7 separate regions of the Homo sapiens genome follow, and regions 2, 3, 4, 5, 6 and 7 are each linked to region 1. The links are contacts of gene promoters, found by promoter capture Hi-C in blood cells and fetal thymus (Javierre and others, 2016). All regions are on one chromosome and are shown on one strand. Each heading gives the region's core, a stretch centred on a gene start or on the middle of the fragment in contact. The rest is flanking DNA. Distances are from core to core; before and after follow the strand shown.

What was found. The method cuts DNA at HindIII sites, captures the fragments that hold promoters and counts their contacts. A CHiCAGO score of 5 or more calls a contact.
Region 2: a contact is called between a fragment that was not itself captured here and the fragment with the promoter of ZRANB2 in region 1, in 5 of 17 cell types (non-activated CD4 T cells, total B cells, naive CD8 T cells and 2 more). The highest score is 10.4, in non-activated CD4 T cells.
Region 3: a fragment that was not itself captured here is called in contact with the fragment with the promoter of ZRANB2 in region 1 in 1 of 17 cell types (naive CD8 T cells); the score reaches 10.4 in naive CD8 T cells.
Region 4: a fragment that was not itself captured here is called in contact with the fragment with the promoter of ZRANB2 in region 1 in 3 of 17 cell types (naive CD8 T cells, total CD8 T cells and non-activated CD4 T cells); the score reaches 5.5 in naive CD8 T cells.
Region 5: a contact is called between a fragment that was not itself captured here and the fragment with the promoter of ZRANB2 in region 1, in 4 of 17 cell types (total B cells, total CD8 T cells, total CD4 T cells and 1 more). The highest score is 11.9, in total B cells.
Region 6: a contact is called between a fragment that was not itself captured here and the fragment with the promoter of ZRANB2 in region 1, in 5 of 17 cell types (total B cells, naive CD8 T cells, total CD4 T cells and 2 more). The highest score is 11.1, in total B cells.
Region 7: a fragment that was not itself captured here is called in contact with the fragment with the promoter of ZRANB2 in region 1 in 1 of 17 cell types (naive CD8 T cells); the score reaches 5.2 in naive CD8 T cells.

Annotation. Positions count from the first base shown.
Region 1 is chr1:71,079,441-71,082,673 of GRCh38, reverse strand. ZRANB2 (zinc finger RANBP2-type containing 2) reads left to right here and starts at 1,639. Exons shown (of 10, transcript NM_203350.3): 1 at 1,639-1,734. The coding sequence starts at 1,679. ZRANB2-DT (ZRANB2 divergent transcript) reads right to left here and starts at 1,350. Exons shown (of 4, transcript NR_046217.1): 1 at 1,261-1,350. RefSeq lists an enhancer at 1,400-1,689. The HindIII fragment of the contact is 3,322 bases long and covers 1-1,784 here.
Region 2 is chr1:76,071,506-76,074,738 of GRCh38, reverse strand. No RefSeq gene overlaps it. Among named protein-coding and RNA genes, the nearest start is that of ST6GALNAC3, 1.6 kb to the left of the region's middle. RefSeq lists a silencer at 1-192. The HindIII fragment of the contact is 1,782 bases long and covers 620-2,401 here.
Region 3 is chr1:66,330,499-66,333,731 of GRCh38, reverse strand. PDE4B (phosphodiesterase 4B) reads right to left here. Exons shown (of 17, transcript NM_002600.4): 8 at 1,112-1,224. Among named protein-coding and RNA genes, the nearest start is that of SGIP1, 200 kb to the left of the region's middle. RefSeq lists enhancers at 80-129, 160-219. The HindIII fragment of the contact is 841 bases long and covers 830-1,670 here.
Region 4 is chr1:75,797,784-75,801,016 of GRCh38, reverse strand. All of the region lies in intron 1 of MSH4 (mutS homolog 4), which reads right to left. Among named protein-coding and RNA genes, the nearest start is that of MSH4, 2.5 kb to the right of the region's middle. The HindIII fragment of the contact is 2,265 bases long and covers 354-2,618 here.
Region 5 is chr1:75,730,337-75,733,569 of GRCh38, reverse strand. It overlaps ACADM (acyl-CoA dehydrogenase medium chain), which reads right to left. Exons shown (of 12, transcript NM_000016.6): 3 at 829-926; 4 at 648-717; 5 at 1-42. Among named protein-coding and RNA genes, the nearest start is that of ACADM, 7.2 kb to the right of the region's middle. The HindIII fragment of the contact is 1,211 bases long and covers 645-1,855 here.
Region 6 is chr1:66,926,983-66,930,215 of GRCh38, reverse strand. All of the region lies in intron 2 of MIER1 (MIER1 transcriptional regulator), which reads right to left. Among named protein-coding and RNA genes, the nearest start is that of MIER1, 3.6 kb to the right of the region's middle. RefSeq lists a silencer at 1-263. The HindIII fragment of the contact is 5,334 bases long and covers 1-3,233 here.
Region 7 is chr1:67,048,481-67,051,713 of GRCh38, reverse strand. It overlaps SLC35D1 (solute carrier family 35 member D1), which reads left to right. Exons shown (of 12, transcript NM_015139.3): 5 at 1,210-1,281; 6 at 1,864-1,932. Among named protein-coding and RNA genes, the nearest start is that of SLC35D1, 4.1 kb to the left of the region's middle. The HindIII fragment of the contact is 3,063 bases long and covers 1-2,886 here.

The sequences.
Region 1 (3,233 bases), core at 390-2,889:
AAAGGTGGTCCCATAAGATTACAATACCATATTTTTACTGTACCTTTATATTTAGATACACAAATACCACTGCGTTACAACTGCCTACAGTATTTAGTACAATAAGATGTACTAAATGCAGGTTTGTAGTCTAGGAGCAATAGGCTATACCATATAGCCTAGGTGTGTAGTAGGCTATACCTGCTAGGCCTGTGTAAGCACATTCTATGATGTTCACACAACAGCACAATTGCCGAAAGTGGCATTTCTCAGAACATATCCCTATCATTAAGTGAGGCATGACTGTATATGCTGTATTCTAAAAAAAATTAATGCATTTATATACCAGAATCTATGCATAAGAATGCTCATACTGGTGTTGTTTGTAATACCAAGCCTGAGAAACAGAAGGAATAAACTGTCACAAAACCACAAAACGGAATAGTATCAGTATACATCAGTGCAAATAAAAGAATTACACCTATACACTTCTACATGCAACTACCTAGGATTAATTTAGAAGCATAATGAACAAAAAAAGAGTACAGAATCAACTATGCTTACACAGCTCATAAAATTAAACATACATGTATGTTAGGTTTTGAAGGGAAGGCAAGGATTAAAGAAAGAGAGGGTGGCTTAACAACAAATACAGGATTTATGTCCAGCATAAGACCTACAGAGGTGGGAGACCAGCTTAATGCCAGTGCCCGTTGCTTCTTACAGGCTGGGGTGATTTATAGGCCTGGGTGGGAGTGGTCTGGGGGGCCATGGCCTGCTTCCTGGGAACATGTTGATAAGGTGTTCCCAGGACGAGGCGGCTCTGGCCCTTGTTCCAGTGGAATGTGGTACTTTCTCCCAGCAGAGTATAAGAGGCAGCCTGTTTCTCACGCCCGAACCCCGTGGAATGTTTCACTTTGACTAAGGTCTGCAAAATGGCAGGGGGGCTTACAAAAATGGTGCAGTTTGGACTAACAACGTACATAAATTTTTAAAAAGCAAAAGAATAAATCCCAAATATGGGAAAGTGTTATCTGTGGAAGAAAGTAATGGGATGGTATCAGAAAAGACACTGGTAATTTAAACAGTGTTGACAATGTCTCAGTTTTAAAATTACCAGCTGGTTCCCATGTATAAGTTGCTTACTTATCTGTTACACCTATTTATGTATATATAAAAATAGGTTTCCAAACGACATCCCATGTGTATGAAATAACAGAATTTTTATGCCTTATTAAAATAATTTCTCTAAACACTTGAAGAGCCCGAGCCGCCTCTTACCCTAAACGAACCCCACGCCCCTGAATTGATCAGTCACTTCCGCCTCCACCTTTCCAGCTCCACCTAAGGAAGCGGAAGTACTTTACTCTTGGGTCCTCCCACCTGTAGGGGGCTCTCCGAGGCTTCTAGTGCCACGAAGGCCTCCTGCCTGGGTTGTCCTTATGGCGCCTGTGAGTTTAGTTCTAGAAAAGATATTTGTATTTTAACTTTTCCATCTAACAAACAGTAGCACAGGCATCTTAGTCTGGACAACAACGTACAAGCTGAATTCCTGGCTAGTTCCCTCATTATCAAACCCTGACACAGTAGTAGGCGCGAGTCAGGCAGTGTGGGGACAGCCCCGAGTTGCCGAAAGTCCCCGGCCCGTTTTCCTCCTGTGAAGACATAGCTGCGGGTGGCTGTGCTGGTGGCGTTCAAGATGTCGACCAAGAATTTCCGAGTCAGTGACGGGGACTGGATTTGCCCTGACAAAAAGTGAGTTCAAGAAGGGTCCTGAATTGGGACGGAGTTTGTTAGTGGAAGCTTTCCGAGGTCCGTCCGGCATTTTCCTTTTTTATGATTTTCTGTGCCTTAAGACGGGTTGAGGCGGCGAACCGCCAGTTCCCTGGCGGGAAGAAGGCTCCCAATCTCCTCACGAGAGAGGTCTTTCCGGGAGCCTTTGTTCTAGATATGTCTTCAGCGTTTCCTCGACATTACCTCCGCAAGGTAGCCTCTCTTTTTAGAGTGCGAGATGGCCTACCTTTTTGCCCCCACCCCCCTCCCCCGCCCCGGCCAGGTTTTAGCGATAGGAAACCTCTCCAGTCAGGCCAGCTTGGTGTTGGATCTCCCCCACGTGACTTTTCTCTGCAGAACTTTACTCTTGTTCACGGAAAATATTGCTTTCTCGCACTCGTCCTTTTGCCTCTTATAGTTCACCTTGTTTTGTATTTTTACTCAAACTTTTCCTCCATACTATTTTCCCCTTTTCCGGAAGCTCTACCCTCTTCGGTTTGGGAAATTCTGACATTTTCTTTGTGGATCATTTCTCCACAAGAATTGGGCTTTTCGCCTCCTTAGAGCCGAAAAGGAGGGAAGAGGCCTGTGTTTTTGCCTACTCAGCCCTTAAGATGCCTGCAGCAGAGAAGCACGTGTGTTAGTGGCTCTGCTTTTTGACATTGTTGCCAAAGCCAGTACTCGACTAGATAGTTAATCAGATTTTTTTTGAAGGGTGCACAAATAGGTGTATCTATTCGGAAATAACATGGAAAATAATTTAATGTACAACTCATGTTCACATAAAAGCCTTTTATTTGTTGTACCTAAGTTAGCCACAAATAGGTTTTGATTGTAAAAAGCAAAAACTTTGAAATAAACCTGGGTTTAGTTAAAATTCTATTACTTATTTAACTGCTAAAAAAGGAATAGAATTTTTTTTTTAATGAAAACATGAAATAACATGGATAGGGTGTGTAAACAGTGACGTGTAGCAAATTCTAATTGGTGGCTATTGATAGTAATTTGATATTAAGATGACCTGAAGGAGTAGTTCAAGCCTAACAAATGATACTGAATAGAACCAAAGTTATATGTTATGGATAGTATTGCTCTGAGTGGTAAGACATTATTGAAAACGTTCAAAAGATTTAGAACAACAACTTCTGACTTTGTTGTTACCTGTAAAATAATGTGCTTTTGTCAGTGTCTTTAATGACAGCACACCCAGAGGTAGGACTCTCAATGAGAGTTCATTTCAACTCATTTACAAATATATGAATAGAATGTTGTTTGTACAATATGTTTAAATGCAGGATAAATTTTCAGAGTATATTTTCCATGCTTAATGGAGTTAAAAGGAATATTTTTAGGGGAAAAACTTAACCTAAATATTATTTAGAGTGTTTCACTTTAGTGTCATCCCATACTTCACATCTGTATTGTATTCTAGTATAATGCCTTAAAAATCAGCTTTTTAAAGTTTAAGCATTCCATGTTAT
Region 2 (3,233 bases), core at 261-2,760, 5.0 Mb before region 1:
GGGACCGCGGTGTAAGCTGCGCCGCCACAGACCCCGCCCCCCGAGCCGCGGCCCCGCCCCCGTCCCCATCCACTGGCCCGCGGCCCGCGCGGCCCCGCCCCCGGGTCACGTGCCGTCCTGGGCGCCGGCGCCGGCGGCTCCTCAGTGCCTGCTACTTCTTTCTCTTGTTTTCTTCTGTGAACCTTTCGCGGCTCGACGTGCGCAGAGTGCGCTCTGCAGCAGGCGGGGACCTGGGTCCCGCGGGGGGCAGAGTACGGCCTTTTCTTCTCGGTTCCGTCTCCTCTCACACATCAGAGAACTCCTTTTTACAGACGTTTCACACTTTGTCAAAGTTGAGTGGGTTTGGCATCGCCCTTCTGGAGACTTTGGGCACATCAAAGGGCTTTTCAAAAGTAGCAACGAAGTTCTCCCTGGGCTGTTCAAGGATTGAGCCTTCACTCTGTGATGGGCTTATCTAAAATTAATAATTTACCGCTAATAAGTGAGCACAAATATCAACGAAAGAAAGACGTCATGAACCTTACACTCTGTATGGTATATTTTGTGTGTGTGTACATATTTTACATATACATGTATGTGTGTATAATATATAAATTATTGCCTTTTCCTGGTACAAGCTTGTTTATGAAATTGTATATGCATGATATACAGTATACAGATACAGGATGCACACATGTGTATATTGTATTATATATGTACATGTTGATTGTACAGTATATGTTTATAAACTGTGTATGTGTACATGATAGGACTTTGCTCTTCCCTGCTCCAAGCAAGAGCCGGCTAAGAGAAGCAGTTATTTCTACAAGGAGAGTAAACGCATTGCAGAAGGGAGAGAGCATTCCGTGTACACACACAGATTTTTACCACTTGGTCTGTCAGAAAAATTTTAAAAGCGGCCCCCAAATATCTACCCAAAAGAAGTTTCACTTGCTAGAAGCTCCGTCTAGTTTGCCTCCATGGAATCAGGAAAAGCACTGTGGGCTGGTGGTGTCATGAGATTGGCTCACAAACCACAAGGCAGAATCCAGGCTTTCAAGGAATTTGGTATTTTCTTGATGAGAACATGCAGAATTCTTAGAGAGCAGGAGTAACCACAGGAAGGAGGTTGCAGAAGCTGAGCCTGTGGATGAACTGCCTGTCCCATGGGAAGCTCCTGTCTTCAGTCTCCCTGGAATACCACACCCTGCTCTTCGACTTCTTCCTCCCGCCCCTCCCTCCTCTGCCTTACAGATCCGGTGTGTTTTTAGTAAGAATTCTTTGTTTGGGACTATATACTTTAAACCGCTGCTTTAGCTCATGGTCCTTCATAGGCCAGGAAAATTCAGTATTTCATTCATTTACTCATCCCTTGATTGATTCCACAAACTTTTTTATTGAGCCACTACTAAATGGAAGAATAAACTTTATTCACCTTCCACTAAGTGGAGGAAAAATCTTTATTGAAGACCTTTCAGGGATAGGAGAATGACTTTCAGAATATCTAACATCAAGGTGGGCTCACAGTTAAGTGAGAAAGACAAGAATAAGAGATACATGATACTATAACATGGAAAGGGCCTTAGCCAAATTGGAAGCAAAGATCTCAGGAAGGAGAAAGAGAAACACCTGACCGTCCCCCAGCCCGACACCCGTAAAGGGTCTGTGCTGAGGAATATTAGTAAAAAAGGAAGGCCTCTTGCGGTTAAGAGGAAGGCCTCCGTCTCCTGCATGTCCCTGGCAGAACAGCAGAGCAAAGGGGTGAGGGTGGGCAGAGCACATCGTTCTCTCTAGAAAGTCTGTACATCTGGAAAGAGAAACAGCAGGCCCTAGTGAACAGCCCTGCTAAGTACTTCCCTGCTGGGTGTCCTTGATCAAGTTTCTTAACCTCTCTTTAATCCTTACCTTATCTAATATTATCTATCCTCAAGAGAATTAAATGAGATAATAATGTTTGCAAATTGCATTTACCTCAATTTCTGGCACTATGAGCACTTTTTATATGATAGCTCTTTATGTAAAGAAAAAAATCTTCCGCTAAAGACAGACTTGTGGGAGAAGATGAATAGGATAATTGCCATCAGCCTTGGGTGTCTCAGGAGGATGAACACCAACGGAGCAAACTTTTAACATGTTATGACTTGGGTATGCCGTGATGAGGCCTTTACTAATTCCCTCAATCTACTTGGATATGGCTTTCTCAATTACATTTCTATCCACCCATGTCCATACTTCCCAAGGTGTTATTTTTTTTATTAACATCCAAAAGTTATGTCAAACAGCTAGAAATAAAGGCACATTTATAACAATCTAAAAACAAACTCAAGTTCTAGAATAAATCTGGACTGGAAGATTTACAAAACAGTATTAACAATCACTGTTTTAGATGGACCACTCGATGTCTGGGGGTGGGGGGGAAGCTTTTGGATGGAAATAAAAACAGGTTTTGAACCTACCAGGGAATGGAGATAGCCAGATTTGTTGGGGCTGGGAGGATAGGAGTGTGTTGCCAGGATTTTTTTGTTTTAAAACTGGCCAAACTACAGGAACAGCTTAGTCAAATCCATAGGTGTAGCATAATTTTCCAGCTCTAACATTATGTGACTTAAAGCCAAGAGTTTCTATTTCCAAAAATAATAATAACAAAATGGAGCATCCTGCAATTAAAGAAAGTATCTCATTTGATCCTCACAACATCCACATGGATGTTATCATCCCCAGCTGGTAACTAGGGGAACAGGGGTTTGAATCTAGGGACTTGTGGGTTTGCCATCTTAACTGCTACATTCAGCTGTCCAGTATGTTAGAAGCCCAATTTCTGTCATTTGTCACTCTTCACATTTCATCTGTTGTCTTAGTGTAGCCATAGGAAAACTTAGGGTAAGTATGAATCCTCCCCGGGATACAGACTAGGATACAAAACCTAGGGTAAATATGTGAGTATGCAGAGGATAGGTACACTCTATCAATCTGAGTGTACCGGATACATACACTCACCCTGTATTTTTCAACCCTCAGCCCCTGGGTCATACCTTAACAAAGACCCAGCACTTCTCATCAGTCTCTCACCAACCAAGCTGTTACCACCTTCTGTGCATGAGAATGACTTCCAATCAAAGATTCTCACTGCTGCATCTCACCTACTACGTGGGGGTGCCACAGAGCAGCCTGCCAGCCTTTGCTTCCTTTCATGGAGAGATCCTTGGACCTGGCCCTTTCACTACATCAGCCTCCCTAGGGCTCTTCTTGGCTTC
Region 3 (3,233 bases), core at 1-2,500, 4.7 Mb after region 1:
TCCTCTGAGCCGCAGCCAGCAAGCCTTGATCCAAAGGTGGTACTTTTACCCCAGGAAAGCTGGAGAAGGGACACACACTCACTGGTGCACCTCAGGGCTGGAAAGGGCATGCTGGCAGGTGTGGAGCAAAATATCTTCTCAGCCCCAGAAACGTAGACAACAAGATGATACTTCAGGCTAGAATGACTGGGACTCTGAAATGTGCACCTATGAGGGTATGGTGTAAGGCTTTTTAACAAAGTGTATGTGTGTGTGTGTGTGTGTACACACACATATATAACTTTGTATAACTTTATAGCAATATGTATTTAATATAATATTCTCCAAGGTAAAAATACAAACAAAAAGCAACAACTCTCACTACATAAATTAGCATTCTAAGTCCAGGTGTTAATTAAACAAATGATATAATGATAGATAATTAAGGCTCTTCAACATTAAGCTTTGTCTGGGGATTGTAAATAAAACCATTTTGGGGGCAGTATGCATGAAGCAATTTCAAATGATTTCACTATGAAAATCAGCAAACTTAAAGAAAACCTCTGGTTTTGGAGACAAAGCATATTGTTTCTTTTTTATCTTAGGTCATGCCAGCATCGCAAAAGAAATCTTAGAAAATCCCAGGATATCCTTCTTTTTAGAGGGAATTTATCAAACTTCAACACAGACCATTCTTTCCCATTGATATATGAAGGTTAAACTACTTTCTTGTTTAAAAATAAATATGTGACACCTGATTGCAATGCAACAAGACTAACTCAGATTTTAGCTTCCTGATAATTGTAAAAAAATTTTAAAGCACTTTCAATGTTATATTGATTTGGAAGCTTTACAGACAGACATCTCTCACCTTAAACCTATTCCAAACTGCATCAGTAAGAGAGAAGTTTTGTTTCTGGAAATTGAAGCGTACTGAGGATTTTAAACTTTTGCTGTAGCATCAAGACACAAGTAGAGTGTGACACTTTGGAAGAGAATCTTCTAGACAAAGCAACAAACATATTCTTAGAGTTGGTAGCATTCCCTGGTGCACTCTGCTGCAGACAGGGGTGAGGGGAGCTGGAGCTCCCTGCATGATCACACTTTAATGAATAAAAAGATCATCTCTTACCTTGTTAGAAGCCATCTCACTGACAGACCGGTAGGTCTGTATGGTCTCTAGCTGGTCTAAACACCAGTCTAATTCCTCCAGCGTTTCCATTGCTAATTTTTGATAAGATTCTTCTGCAAACAAACACACAGGCATGTAGTTAGGCTGGAGCGGCTGCAGGCTGTCCATAGCAGAGTCACCGCTACCACCGCTGATTCCGGTGCTACTGAAGGTGCCCCCGTGCTCCTTCATTATTTGCACGCTGGCTCCTTCCTTCCAGCTCTCTCCACCAGGAGAACAAATCACAGTGGTGCTCTGCCTGGGATGGCTGGTGCCAAGTTTCCCCCCAACCCCCCGCCTGGATGAGGTGTCGGTGATCTACCAAGAAACTTCCTCTGAGGAAGAAGGCGGAGGGAACGGTCTCTTATAAGCTCATCTGCATAAATGTGTCCTAAAACTAAAGGCAGAAGCACCAAAGAGTTTTCTCAGACTCTCTCTGCCTTAGTCATCCCAGGGTTCTTTAGGGTATGTGATGTCATTTCTGAGTGCTTTGCCATCTCAAGGAGAAATGAGGAAAGCTTTTTCTCATTTTGCTTTTCTTCTAAATGAAACAGTCAAAATTCGGGTGAAAACTGGTTGACCATTACGTTCAAAGTCTAGGCAGTCATTCATCCTGAGGATTGTGTTCATGTTGGAATAACTTCTAATTCAGCGAACACTGACCCGCACAAGTAAGAGGCATAGGCTATTCCTTTCTCTCCCTTAAATCTTTCCTTTAATTAGAGGGAAAATGAGGTCTCCCTGATAAGACTCCAGTCTAAAAGAAGCTGTCTGGAGTTTTACGTGAACACGTTTATTGGCCTGGGAGTCCTGCAGCTCTTGTTATACTAAACAAAGCTAAAACTTCCCTTCTGCAAGTGCCAGGATCACAGGGAAATTCTGAACCGGACTTTCAGGTGGAGCCAGATGTGAACACTCTGCAGATTTTTATTTTGATTAAAGCTGGGGGCTCCAATTTGTTGCCCTAAGACTCTAGACTTTCTGGAAATATTGTTGGTATTTCACACAAAAAATATTGTTGTGAAAATCACATTTTTTTGCTAGATAATTAAAATTCTTTTTACATATCCTTAACATGTCATTTTATATCCAAAAGTTTGTGAATCTAAACAAATACTTCAGGTTACTGGCTTAAGAAATCTATCTTAATAAGCACTGAAATAACTTTATAAATGCTAGATGAATTAATGAAGCTACAGAGAGTTGTAAAAAGCACTTGGACTCTCCTATATACACGACTGTTTTTGAGAGAAATAGCATTTATAAACTCTACCAAGATTTCTGAAATACAAACACACAATAGGCACTAATAAAATGTAAAATCTCACATGGAGTTCTAATATAACATTCCTGCCATATTTAAAAGACATTTTTATACATTTATACAGAAATTCTAGCAAGACCACATGGTTTTTAAAAATTATTATATGAATAATCTTATGTCTGTGGTGTGCAAATACTTGAAGCAGAAAAGAGAATCAACAGAACTGTGATTCCAAGTAACTGGAATCACTTGGCCACAGACGCATATTTCAAAGAATAGTTGCTTTGTTTATCCCCGAAATATTCATACACTTCAAGATAAACAGGGGTTAAATTCAATATCCTGTATGTCATGCTTAAAAAGCCACAAAACCACTGGAGGTAACTTCCTCCATTTTTTTTTCACACTCTTCAAAAATGTGCAGACAAGAATTGAGGTGTTTTTAATAAAACTCATTTCAAGCCAGACTTACACATACCTTCCTTCCTTTCTTCATCTTCAATTTTGCAATGCTGCCTCAACACGAAGATTCTCTGACTTACTCTCTAGTGTGTCCGAAACAACCCCTTGCCTCCTCTGTTTGCTTCCAGAAGAGCACTTCTTCCAAGGAAGCCTTTTCTGAAGAGACAGAACCCTCCCATTCTCATTCCCTGCCTCTAATAAAGGAAAAAGTCCAACCACTTCCCAGCTGCTGGGGATTTACTACCTTCATGTCTTCCACATCACAACCTGTGGTTCTCTGTAACTAATATTGGACATTCACCAGGACGGTGGGGAGAAAGTAGCTTGCTCCTAGCCTTTTGAATCCACTGATATGCA
Region 4 (3,233 bases), core at 237-2,736, 4.7 Mb before region 1:
GCATTGTTCAATAAAGCAGCATATGTGAGTATTTAACTAAATCAAAATTAAATACAATTTAAATTCTGTTCCTCAGTCACACTAGCAACATTTTCAAATGCTCAAAAGCCACATACGGCTACTAGTTACCACATCGGACAGCATAAGTATGAAACGTTTCTATTATCACAGAATATTCTATCAGACAATGTAGCTCCAGGTCACTATATCTATCTCTTGGGCATAAACCTTTAGGTATCTTCCCAGCATTCTAAATGTCCAAAAGTGAACTCTATCTTTCCCTCAAAATTAATTCTTTATTACCAGTATGGTTAATTGTACCAGCTTGTCCCTTGTCACTCAAGTCATAAGCTTAGGAGACATTCTCAATTCTTCCTTCATCAACCCTAACACTCAGTGACTGAGTGCTAGAATTCTTTTTTTTTAACATCACTAAAATTTAAATCCCTCTCTACTCCTCCCAGCCCATTTTAAGCCTGTATCTTCTTTGGTCCTTGTGCAAGTTTCCTACTTCTTCTTCTCCTTGCTTCCAGTATTACACCTCTCTAATCTATTCTTCGAATCATCACCAATAATCTTTCTGAAAAGCAAATCTGATCAGTATCTCTCTTTCTTACAATTCCTATGTGTCTCCCCATACTCACCATAGGGTAAAATATAACTTCATTATATGGGTTCCAGCAGGAATCAATGATATACTCAAACTGGGATAATTTGATAAAGAGAATATTTACAAAGGTGTGGACAGGGTGTAGGGGTGCTATCATAAAGACGTGTGTAGAACCAGCATAAAATGTGCTCCATTAGCATTTCTAGGCTTTAGGGAGCTAAGGAAGAGAGTGGTTGCCAGAAACTGGAGATGCGGAAACTGGAGATGGAGAGGGCTGTTTCTTGTTCTCAGACTACTTTTAGACTATATACCCTTTCTTGAAACTCATTCACTTGTCTTAATTCTCCTCCTACTTCCTTGACCTCTATTTTGCTATATAGTCTTCATATTCTCTGCTGTGGTCCCAACATACTGGTAACTTTCAAATCCATATTTCCCTCAAGTTTCTCTCTTCTTAGCTCTAGTTTCCTATATTCAATTATCTTAATATAAATATATGGATATCCCACAGGCTTTTCACACTCAGCATGTCCATAACAGAGCTCATCATCTTCCCTCTAAAATTTGCTTTGCCTACAAAATTCCCAGAATCAGAAAATACTACTACCATCTATCCAGTCACCAAAACCAGAGACCTGGTGTTGAATATGGGGGGTCTCTGGGTTAAATTTGTCTCCCAGATCTAATTCTCACAACTATATCTACATTCAAGTTTATCTACCTAGATCACTCTCCTGCTCTAGCCAAGCAAAATTATTAGCAGTTTTACATGATTCTTCTGTGCCTTTGCACGTGTTTTTCTCAAGAATGCGCTCCAGCTGTTTCCCTTTGGCTGGCATTCTTCTTCCTACTTATTCTTGAAGACCAGTTCAAGGTGCACTTACTCTGTGAAATGTCTTTTCCCACTTTTGTCCCCATACTTTAATTATACCTACCTCAAAAATTATAAATACCTCAAATACAGTTATTTCTTAAATGTGTATTTGTTGATTTTTAAGTCTGTCTTCTCTACTGAACCTTAAGTTCATTGAGAGCACAGATTATTATCCCCAGCTGCTAACATAATTTGAACCTTTGTTCGCCTATTTGGGCCTTGGTTCTATCTGTAAAACAGGAACAAAAAAAAAATCTACTCTGCAAAATTATTGTGAGGATCAAAGATACCGTCTGCCTAGTAAGAAGCCAGAACAAAGTAGGTGCATATAAATTAGTGAATGTTATCATTACTGATAAATAAGTGGGTGACCAAGCATCTGATGAAGAGAGGGATTAGACTGACAATGTGAACATTCATGTTGCTTTAAAGGAATTGCAAGTAGCTCAGTTTTGTTAGAAAGCAGGGTAAATATTAAATGATGAGGGATAAATCTGTAAAGATTAGAAACCGATCCCAATTGCTTTGGCTATCCTTCTAGAGAGTTTGATCTTTTACCTGCAGATACAGGTCTACTGATTTAAGTGGCAAGGGACATGATAAGATCATTTTCCACATAACTCTGGTGGTACAGTAAGTAAGCTACAAGGATGGAAGAACACTTAAGAGTTTGAGGGCTAGGTGCAGTGGCTCACACCTGTAATCCCAGCATTTTGGGAGGCTGAGGTAGGAGGATCGCTTGAGCCTAGAAGTTCGAGACCAGGCTGGGCAACGTAGGAAAACACTGTCTCTACAAAAAAATTTTTTAAATTAGCCATCTGTAGGGGCACATGCCTTGGTCCCAGCTACTCGGGAGGCTGAGGTGGGAGGATCGCTTGAGCCCAGGAATTTGAGGCTGCAGTGAGTCATGACCATGCCACTGCACTCCAGCCTGGGCAACAGAGCAAGACTCTGTCTCAAAAAAAAAAAAAAAGTGCAGAGAGGAATTTAATTAATCATATAGTCAGCCTGAGGTATCCATTAGTCCATCAATAAAAACTTCAGAAGACAGTCTGAAGTAAGTCTGGAGTGTAGATGAGATCTGAGCTGTGGAGATAGTCACATCTAGGTAGAAGTGGCCTAGGAAAAAAAGCTTTAATGACATGCCCATAATTTGGGAACAAAGGTGGGCACAGCAATTCTCTGGGAGGTAGCAGAAAAACAGGGGCAAGTGGAATCAAGGAAGCCAAATTAAAAGAGTTTAAGAGAAGACCAGTCAAGAACATTAAACATAGGCCAGGCAGCAGTGGCTCATGCCTGTAATCCCAATGCTTGGGCAGACCGAGGCAGGAGCACTTGAGACCAGGAGTTTGAGACCAGCATGGGCAGCATAGCGAGACTCTGTTTCTAAAAATAAAGAAATTAAGAACATTAAATACAGCAGAAAGGTCACATGAGATGAACTGAAAAATGACCATTGGATTTGGTATTTGTTACTTTACCATTGTGTTGCAATCGTGTGTGAAAAATGGTGATGCTTTGTCATGAATAGAGACTAACAAAATAATAAATGATTTGAAGGACATGCATCTTTTTTGTTTGTTTGTTTTGAGTCAGGGTCTCACTGTGTCACCCAGGCTGAAATGCAGTGGCGCAATCTCAGCTCACGGCAGCCTCGACCTCCCGGACTCGCCATCCTCCCACCTCAACCTCCTGAGTAGCTGGGACCACAGTCACGTGCCACCACACCCAGATAATTTTTGTACTTTT
Region 5 (3,233 bases), core at 1-2,500, 4.7 Mb before region 1:
CACTAATTAAACAAGCATCAAAAGTTCCAAGTCCAAGACCTCCTACAGTATCAAAATGTTTCAACACATTGTAATATGTAGTACATCACAATAGAAATAAAGGTAAACTATTTTAATTGCTTTCAATATGACCAAAATTTGTTTTAAAAGGAAATTTGCAATATAATATCTACATGTGTTCTGGCTGGCACAATAAGAAATTATACTTTCTTAAAGCTCTAAAATTTTCAAAAAATTATTTTACTATTTGTAATTTGAACCTGTATTCCTGTTCTAACTTGATTTTGTTAAAACTCAATTCAACTCTAAAACTGGGTCTGAGGAAAAGAATCATGGTTCACAAAAAAGACTCAATAAAATGTAATATAGAAGATAGGAATAAAACACAACAAATTGACCAACTCTAGAAACGGAAGTTACCAAGGTTTAGGTGCAAGTTAAGGTTGGAACCAGTTAGAAGAAGGAAAAACGCATCTAGGTATAGAGTGCAAGCTTCCAAAAGTGGGCAAACACTGTAGTCTGAGCAGGAAGACAAAGGTAGAAAGTCATTTAATGGCAAGAAATATTTGAAAAAAATGACTGAGTAGAGTTCCACAATTTTTCTTACTCATATGCATTCCAGTATTAAAAATATAAAGAAAGCTTACCACAGTTCTCTGGAATGTGTGTGTTCATTAAACCAAGTTCCCAGGCTCTTCTAATTAGGGGGACTGGATACTAGAAGAAAAAGAACTGAGTTAAAATATATTTTGAAATCCAGATAGTTTGATTACATAATCTTGTAAAAAATGTAAAAGATTTTTCCCTCTTTAAAATGTATATACCTACTTCACCAGTTTTATCATATTCTGCAGCCACTGGGATGATTTCCTCTCTGGCAAATTTACGAGCAGTAGCTTGAAATTCTTTCTGCTGTTCGGTGAACTCTAAGGGAAAATTATTTAGAAAAGTTAAAACTGGATAACAAGGAAAAATGTCCTATGAAGTCAGTATGTAGAAATGTGTATTTATTGTGGGGACTTAAATCCTTGATTATCAGAAACTCAGACTACAGTGCATTTTTTGACTAATCAAGAGTTCACTACACAATATAAATAAACCTATGTCAATACAAATGCTAAAGGAAATAGGTAAGATTTTTAACTTTTACAAATGAGTAATAGATATTAACCTGTAGAGCTCAAGTGAGTTTTTCTTTTCCAATTGGTGATATAAAAAACGTTTAACTTATTATTAGTTCCTAAGCCAATTTATCAAATGTTTGCTAACACTGAAGTGAAACTAATATACAAGACATCTCCCTGACGACAAGAATCAATCTAACGAAATAGATGAAACACACTCAGTGACATAAAGCAATAAAACTTATTTCAAAGTGTCATATAAGAATATCAATATCATAATTTTGCTTTTTTTTTTTGAGACAGTCTCATTTTGTCACTCAGGCTGGAGTGCAGTGGTGCAATTACGACTCACTGTAGCCTCGACCTCCTGGCCTTAAATGATCTTCCCACCACAGCTTCTCAACTAGCTGGGATCACAGGCACATGCCACCATATCTGGCTAATTTTTGTAATTTTTGTAGATACAGGGTTTTGCCATGTTGCCCAAATGGGTCTAGAACTCCTGGGCTCAAATGATTCTCCCATCTTGGCCTCCCAAAGTGCTGGGAGCCACCTCACCCTATCTATTTCATTTTTTTTGTTTTCACAGAGACAGGGTCTCACTATGATGCCAGGCTGGTCTTGAACTCGTGGCCTCAAGCAATCCTCCTGCCGTGGTCTCCTAAAGTGCTGGGATTACAAGCATGAGACACCATGCCTAGGCTTACAGCTCCTTTAAACTCAGACAAGCTTATAAATTAGCACAAAGCAACTGGTAAAAGTGGTAGAAAGGTTTTTCAAAAGATAATAACATAAAATCCTGCTGCAATGCTAATAAATGGTGTCCAACAATTTGTTTACATAAAATAAGGGATTGTTTTAAAATTAATGAAATTAGTATGGTGGCTTGATTGAGGAGAGGAGTCAATTGCTAACTGCATCTTTTCAAATCCATGGTATCCTTGTGTTTTAATGTGGTTGCATCTAACGTCAAAGATTAGGTAAAATTTAAGAGATAATAGGGTATTTCAAGCAAGAAAAATGAGAGCAAATGCACAGAGGAATGTTTAAGACTACAGTAATCATTTGTATGGGGATGTGAGAAACAATACATAAAAGCTGAATTCTGGTGCTGAATTGAAGAGCATAAGATCAAATCTCTTTTTTTTTTTTTTTTTTTTTTTTTTTGAGACGGAGTCTCGCTCTGTCGCCCAGACTGGAGTGCAGTGGCGCAATCTAGGCTCACTGCAAGCTCCGCCTCCCGGGTTCACGCCATTCTCCTGTCTCAGCCTCCTGAGCAGCTGGGACTACAGGTGCCTGCCACCGCGCCCGGCTAATTTTTTTTTTTGTATTTTTAGTAGAGACGGGGTTTCACCAGGATCTCGATCTTCTGACCTCGTGATCCGCCCACCTCGGCCTCCCAAAGTGCTGGGATTACAGGCCCGAGCCACTGCGCCCAGCCAAATCTCTCTTTTTATTGATAAACTAATGCAGAGTAAGGAAATTCTAGTATCAGTCTCACAATGAATTAGCAGAAGTATACTTAAGAATTTCAGTCCAGTGTTCTCTCTATCACAGCTTTACTTCTAAGATTGGTGCCAGTTGATAGCAATCTTGCAGGTAGATAGAGGGTAGAGAAAGTCTGGGCACGGTAGCTCATGCCTATAATTCTAGAATTTTGGGAGGCTGAGGCAGGTGAACCATTTGAGGCCAGGAGTTTGGGGCCAGCCTGAGCAATATAGCAAGATCCTGTCTCAACAAAACATTTAAAAATTTAAAAAATCAGCTAGGTGTGGTTGACATGGACCTATTGTCCTAACTGCTCAGGAAGCTGAGGCGAGAGAATCCATGGAGCCCCAGAGGTCAAGGTTGCATCCAGCTTGGGTGACAGAGTGAAACCCTGTCTCTTAAAAAAAAAAAAAAGGAAAAATGACAAGTATGTATTATGTATTATTTATTGAGAAACTACTTTGATCCAGTCACTAAGTGCTAGGGGCTTTAAATACAGCATATAATTTAATCTTCATAGAAATTCTGTGTTATAGATATTATTTCCACTTTACAGATAAAGAACCAGATGCAACTGGTTCAAGGAATAGACCCGTATTGAACTTCACAATCTCCCTCCCA
Region 6 (3,233 bases), core at 501-3,000, 4.2 Mb after region 1:
GCCCCCTCGCGGCGCCCCGGCTGGGCTGGACTGGAGGGAAAAGACCAGCGAGCACGCGCCGGAGCAGGGGCGCGCGCGCGGCCCCGCGGCCAGCCCTCCCCGGGAAGAGCGGAGGGGGCGGAGTCAAGGTGGGTGTGGGAGGAGGTGGGCAACCGCGCGGGGCGCTTCGCTGGCTCCAGCTGATCCGCCACTCCAGGCGGAGGGGGTTGTCTACGGATCAGAGAGGTCAAGGAACAGTGCCAAAGGAGTCACATCCAGCATTGACACAGCAGAGGAAAAATACGTAATATTTTACATGTAGGTCGTTTTTGAAATGCATTTGCTGAAAAACGGATGTTGCTGTGATGCAACGGCGGCAAGAACTGTGCTTTGAAAGCGGTTATGCCTTGACAAATATTTCTCCATCAGTAGATTCCCGACAGGAAATGTAAAATTCTATATCCCCAAATCTCTAGAGAGGTCAGAGCAAAAATTAATGGAAGGGGTTATGATAGGCAGTCCGCCATCCTCATGTCATTTGCGTTTTCTCACACACTTCTGTCATGCCGGTAGCAACACAGTTATGTACTGAATTTTGCACAACTAGACAAAATTTAAAATACTGAAAATTGACTGTTTTATGGATATCATCTATTTAGTAGCATGGAGGGAGAACCTACTTATTTGCAATGCCTGAAATGCCTGTAACTTGAAAGTTTATTTTAATGTATTGGCCTACAGCTGCCAATTGGCCGTGATGCCAATGCTGATGATGGCCAGAACCAATGATTTCAAAGTAACTAACATGTTTCACTTCCATTATACTAAGGCACATACTGAATAACACAAAGGTGACATTAAAACAGTCACTAACATATTTTACTAAACCAGTTTGAAAGTCTTTATTTCAAAAGACTGGGATTTTTTTCCTAATCTTCAAGGGTTCCTCTTAATGCAGTTTCAAAAGTGGCTACCAAAATCAACCATTTAAATACGAGAATTATTCATTCCTTCCAAATAATGTGAACCAATACTACATTGCATAAATGTGTACATATACAATTTTTCTTAAAGTTAATACTTAACTTATAATGCAATATAGGGGAGGCTATTAAATTATTTATATTCCCTTAAAATTCTAGACTCTATCAAGCATTTTCCTATTTCCAAAGATTCAATGTTAATTTGAAACTGTTATGTCCAATAATAATCTGTGCATGAATAAACTGCATTTACAGATATATGAAGTAGCTGCTAAGTGAAAGGACATTACCTGGTAATTTGACAGGAAAAGAGTCCACAGACAGTCTGTAAACCAATTAAACATAAACATCTGATGCACATTTTCTACTGAAAGAAAAGCAAGGGAAAGAAGAGAAAGGAAAACTTTAAGGTTCCCAAATCTACAAACAATTTTTACCATTAACTGTACTGTACAGTATTTTCATTTTATTTTTTAGAAAACTTATATAAAAGTGTTTTTCAGGATTCCTTGGGGGAATAAATATTTTAGCAGAGGTATATAGTTTCTAATAGTTACCCTGTTGAATTATGTCAATCCTCTGGACTTGAAATAAAAATGACTTTTTAAAAGTGTCAGTTCATATCCAAATAGTTTTCAATCAATACACTTAATGAAAAGAGCTGAAGGCAAAGAACAATGGATATACATGGACCTGAGGTGGGTACAGACACAATTAGGGGCCTAGAGGTACAAACTCAGGCTTTATACCATGGAGATGAAGGAGGGTTTTCCATTAACATATGAAAGCTAATTTATGAAATTTGGCTACCAAAGGAAAATTAAAAGTGTTACAATACAAGGTACAGAAATAACTTGCTTAAGTACACTGAATCTTTGATTCTTCAGTTAAACTACCAACAGAAATCCCAACTATGATAAAGAGCAGGGGATCATAGTCTATTAACCTACTGAATGAATCCTAAACTTGTCAGGAAAATGGAAGTCTGAAACATTTCTGAATGGGTATCTATCTTACTGTTAAATAACTCTTTAAGTTTATTAATATTGTGTATCAATATTACTAGTTTTAAATGGTATTATTATTATTGAGGGAAAAAAACTCTCTACATTTTTCCCCTTCCCCTTTTTATAAATGTGGATTCAGTGGGTTTTTTAGGTTCAGATATTATAAAAAAGAAACAGCTCTAATACTGCAATTCATAGGTAACACATTACCACTGAATTCAGTATCCTTCCACTATTATTTTATTTTAGTGATACACCTAACTGTAAAATTTTCAGGAGCCACCTTACGGAATGAAAAGTCTTTCTCAAAACGCTTACTTACCCTCTTCAGTATTAAATATATAAAAATTAACTATTCACTAGTTATAGAATTTTAGTGTTGGATGGGACCTTAGAGATCTTTTAGTCAATTCTCTACCCTGTCAAGATAGTAATCTCTCATCATGCTTCTACTACCAGGCTTTCTGCCTATGTTTAAACCCCTCCAGTGACTCACTATATCTCATAAAAAGGCTGCTCTTTTCAAAAAAAGTTCAAATGTTTAAAACATTCTTTCTTTTATTATGCCAGAATCTACCTCCTTGTTGTTTCCATCCATTACCCTTAGTTCTTCAGCACTTTGGATTAATTCAACAGATATCTTCTTTGTATCCAAATGCAAACAGTTAATATTTATACTTGGGTTAACAAAAAAAAATTTATTTTTAAAGCCTATTCATACTAGAAGAGTTGAAAATAGGACATGAGAGAGCTAAAGGCATAAGAAAATGCACCATTAATTGTGTCTGCTTAAAATTATTACACTTTGTTATTTATTAATGTGATATCCAAAACAGTAGTTCTGTTGGAATTGTGTATAAAATTTTTAAACTAAAAAAGTGTGCTGAATTCCAATTTTATGTGAGGTTTGTGATTAATGTCCCAAAACAAAAAACCACTATACAAAGCCTGAATAAATGCCTCTTCAGCTCCTATTCCCCACCTAAAAGCCTCCTTATTTTCAGGCAAAGTAACATTAATTTTTATGACATTAAGCTACTCAAAACTGCTATTATATTGATAAATCATTTGTAAGCAATTTACTGAATCTTCCATTCAAAAGTTATTGAACAATTCTATAGAGGCTATAAGGCGCACGCACACACAAACCCCTCAGTTATTATTATGCTTTTAACAAAAGCATTTAGGAGCACAATCTTACTTCAACCAGTACCTTAAACGAACCAATGAACAAACTTCTTTGGCAATTTACATATACCTAAGA
Region 7 (3,233 bases), core at 106-2,605, 4.0 Mb after region 1:
CCACAATAGTGAAGATATATACTAGGCTTCTGGGATTTCAGTTCTTTAGTATAGTTCATAAATATTTTAGGCAACTTCCACACAGCAAAATTAGAGGGTAGGCACAAGAACTTTTGCAGTTTTTCTTTTAATGTGAAGTAAGGTAACATCAGCTAGAACCCTGATAAAAATATTATTAATATCTTACACATGGCATGTAACTGTAGAGGCAACATACTTATTTTCAGAAAGAAGCAATAGCTCTCCTCTCCATGGTAACACTGTCTTTCCCTCTAACCTCCCGGTTTCTGGCTTCTGCTCTTATTGTAGTGTACATATCGGTTGTGTGTGGTATTAAAATGACACAAATAGAGAAAACATTTAACAGAAACCCCATGGCTTCACCACTACCACACAAGCTAAAACCCTGGCATTGTAAAATAGAATGGAGAGATTTTTGAGCATCAAGGACAAGGTGTTTTTCATTTCTTCCTTTAAAACCCGAGAAACCTGACAGAATGACCGAGATGATATCTCTGAAGAGGGTTCCAAGGAAGTCAGATTTATCATGGGTGGGACATTTTTTTCCATTTCATTACCCACCAGGAAAGAAATGCAGGCCTTCTGCAAAGTGCTGCTTGTGTAGAGTTTGCTTTTTTTCATCCATCTCATCCAACCATTCATTCACACCTATCTTTGATTGCCAGCTAAGTATAAGGCACTTTGGAGTGAGATAAGATATATTCAGAAATAACTATATTGCAAGAGGCTGTATGTTTGATTAGTACAAGCAAAATGCTCTGGGAATTTAGATGAAGACAAAATTACATCCACAAAAGGACAGTCAAGGCATTTCATGGGGTAAGATTTTCATAGATGGTTTTTGGGTGGTCTAGGGGGTGGGAAGGGAGGTCAGACTAGTGAAAAAATGAGAAGGAAGCCTTTTTCTATTAAAAACTGACATATTTACAGCTTAGGGTTTTGCATAATTAGAATAAAGTTTTGTAGTTAATTTAATGTTTCTCACTTCTAGTAGTTTTTTAAAAGCAACTGTTGTAGGCTTTCAAGTAGGAATTGCTTCTAGAGAGAAGCAGGGGTTTAACCATAAATTAATTTGTATGGAATTTCCATAATGGAAGAATAGCATTATTTTAACTACCAATTTGGAAAATCTTAGTTTAAAACAAATTGTTAAATTCTATTTTACCTAATTATCTTTTTTTTTTCCAGCTTGCCAATGTTTACAGTTCTGAGAAGGTTCTCCATCCTGTTTACAATGTTTGCTGAAGGAGTTTTACTCAAGTGAGCTAAGTTTCTAATATATCTGTTCTTTAAATCACCTTGAAAAGGTGCCCAGCATATGTGAGATATTAAATTATTTGTCTTGTTCCTACCTTACCTTTTGAGAAGTTTAAGCAACCCTCTCTCTTGGCTGCTGGAATTGATAGTTTGTGGGAGTGGTAGTTGGGAAGGTTATGAATTAGAGTTGAAAATCTTATCTGAACGTGAGATTTACTTTCTAGAATTTCTGTACTACTGCCACCGGGAGAAGCTGGATCAGAATCATAGGTATAGGTTTTAAATAGTGTTCATGTCTAGCTCCAAATGAATGTGACATTTTTCTGTTAAAGAAATTCTGCTTCACAAAAATTCAAACTCACTAATAATGACAATAGGTGAAAATTTTAAAAGTGGGTGTAATAACTTATATAACAATAAATTTTTGCTTTATCAAAGGGGTTCTTTTAAATATCAGTTTCTCAGAAATGTTTAAAATACGATTGTTTATAGCTTTTGAGAAAGCATATCCCATTTTTTGCTTCTGTTGTAAAATGAGTGTGGGAATAAAGTCATGTGTGTATTTTAAAATTTTTTGTTTTGTAGGAAGACTTTTTCTTGGGGTATTAAAATGACTGTATTTGCAATGATTATTGGAGCCTTTGTAGCTGCCAGGTAAGATGTGGGCCTATGACTAGCACATTATAAATTGTCAATAATTATTGATAATAAATGATTGCTTATCAATAACAATTTTTTATTGCCTAAATAAGAATTATATCTTTGAAAAGCATCTAGAAGACTCTTGAAAAGGTTAAATCTTTTTGGCTGTATTAAGATAAAGGTTGACAAAAATAAGATTCTTGGGATTGTTAAAATTTAAATTGATGTAATTTAGAATTTGTTACTGTCGTTGTGCTGAGCACATAGCATGTGCCACACAATATGTTTGGCATTTTACACATCTTATTATGTATTCTTCACAACACCTCTGAGAGGTATGGGTATAATTTTCCTATTTTATAGTTGAAGAAACTAAAACTTAAGTTCAATAACTTACTTAAGGTCACAGAGCTAATGGCAGAGCTGAAATTTGAATCTGTGGCTTTCTTCAGAGCCTGTGTGTTTTTATAAACCATGTGGCATTTCTTTTTTTTTTTTTTGAGACGGAGTCTTGCTCTGTCGCCCAGGCTGGAGTCCAGTAGTGGGCTCTCGGCTCACTGCAAGCTCCGCCTCCCAGGTTTACGCCATTCTCCTGCCTCAGCCTCCCGAGTAGCTGGGACTACAGGTGTCTGCCACCACACCCAGCTAATTTTTTGTATTCTTAGTAGACACGGAGTTTCACCATGTTAGCCAGGATGGTCTCGATCTCCTGACCTCGTGATCCGCCTGCCTTGGCCTCCCAAAGTGCTGGGATTACAGGCGTGAGCCACCGCGCCTGGCCTGGCGTTCCTTAATTTTGCATGCTGCTAAAGAAAAGCATGTCTCCTCTTCTGTGAGGTGAGGAAAATGACTATGAAACATTTGCTTGCCTTTTCGAATAATGAACAATAACATTGCTTTAATTGGCCTCACATAAGATATGTCACAAATGCCATAACTTAGATATTCTATTAGGTTATTAAAGCTTTTCCCATTTTTCTTAAGTTTTAGTTTTAAAATACATGAGGAAAATGTATACCCACAGACCTAGAAAATTATAATGATGCTAGAAGTCTTCTACAACATTTTAATCAGCCCAGGGCATGCATATATGTATTTACTAATGCCACACATTCTGCCAGACATATGTTTTCCATCCAGGAGTTCCAGTGTACTTCTTGAATTGACTCATTTACCTTCATCACATTCCTGTAGTATAGGTGGAAGAAAATATTATCAGTCCAGTCCTGTTTTACAAGTCCAATCTCCAAGTAAAATTTCATTCTAAAAAAAAGAGAGTGGCGTAATTGGTTACTAGAAATTGGCTATATAGC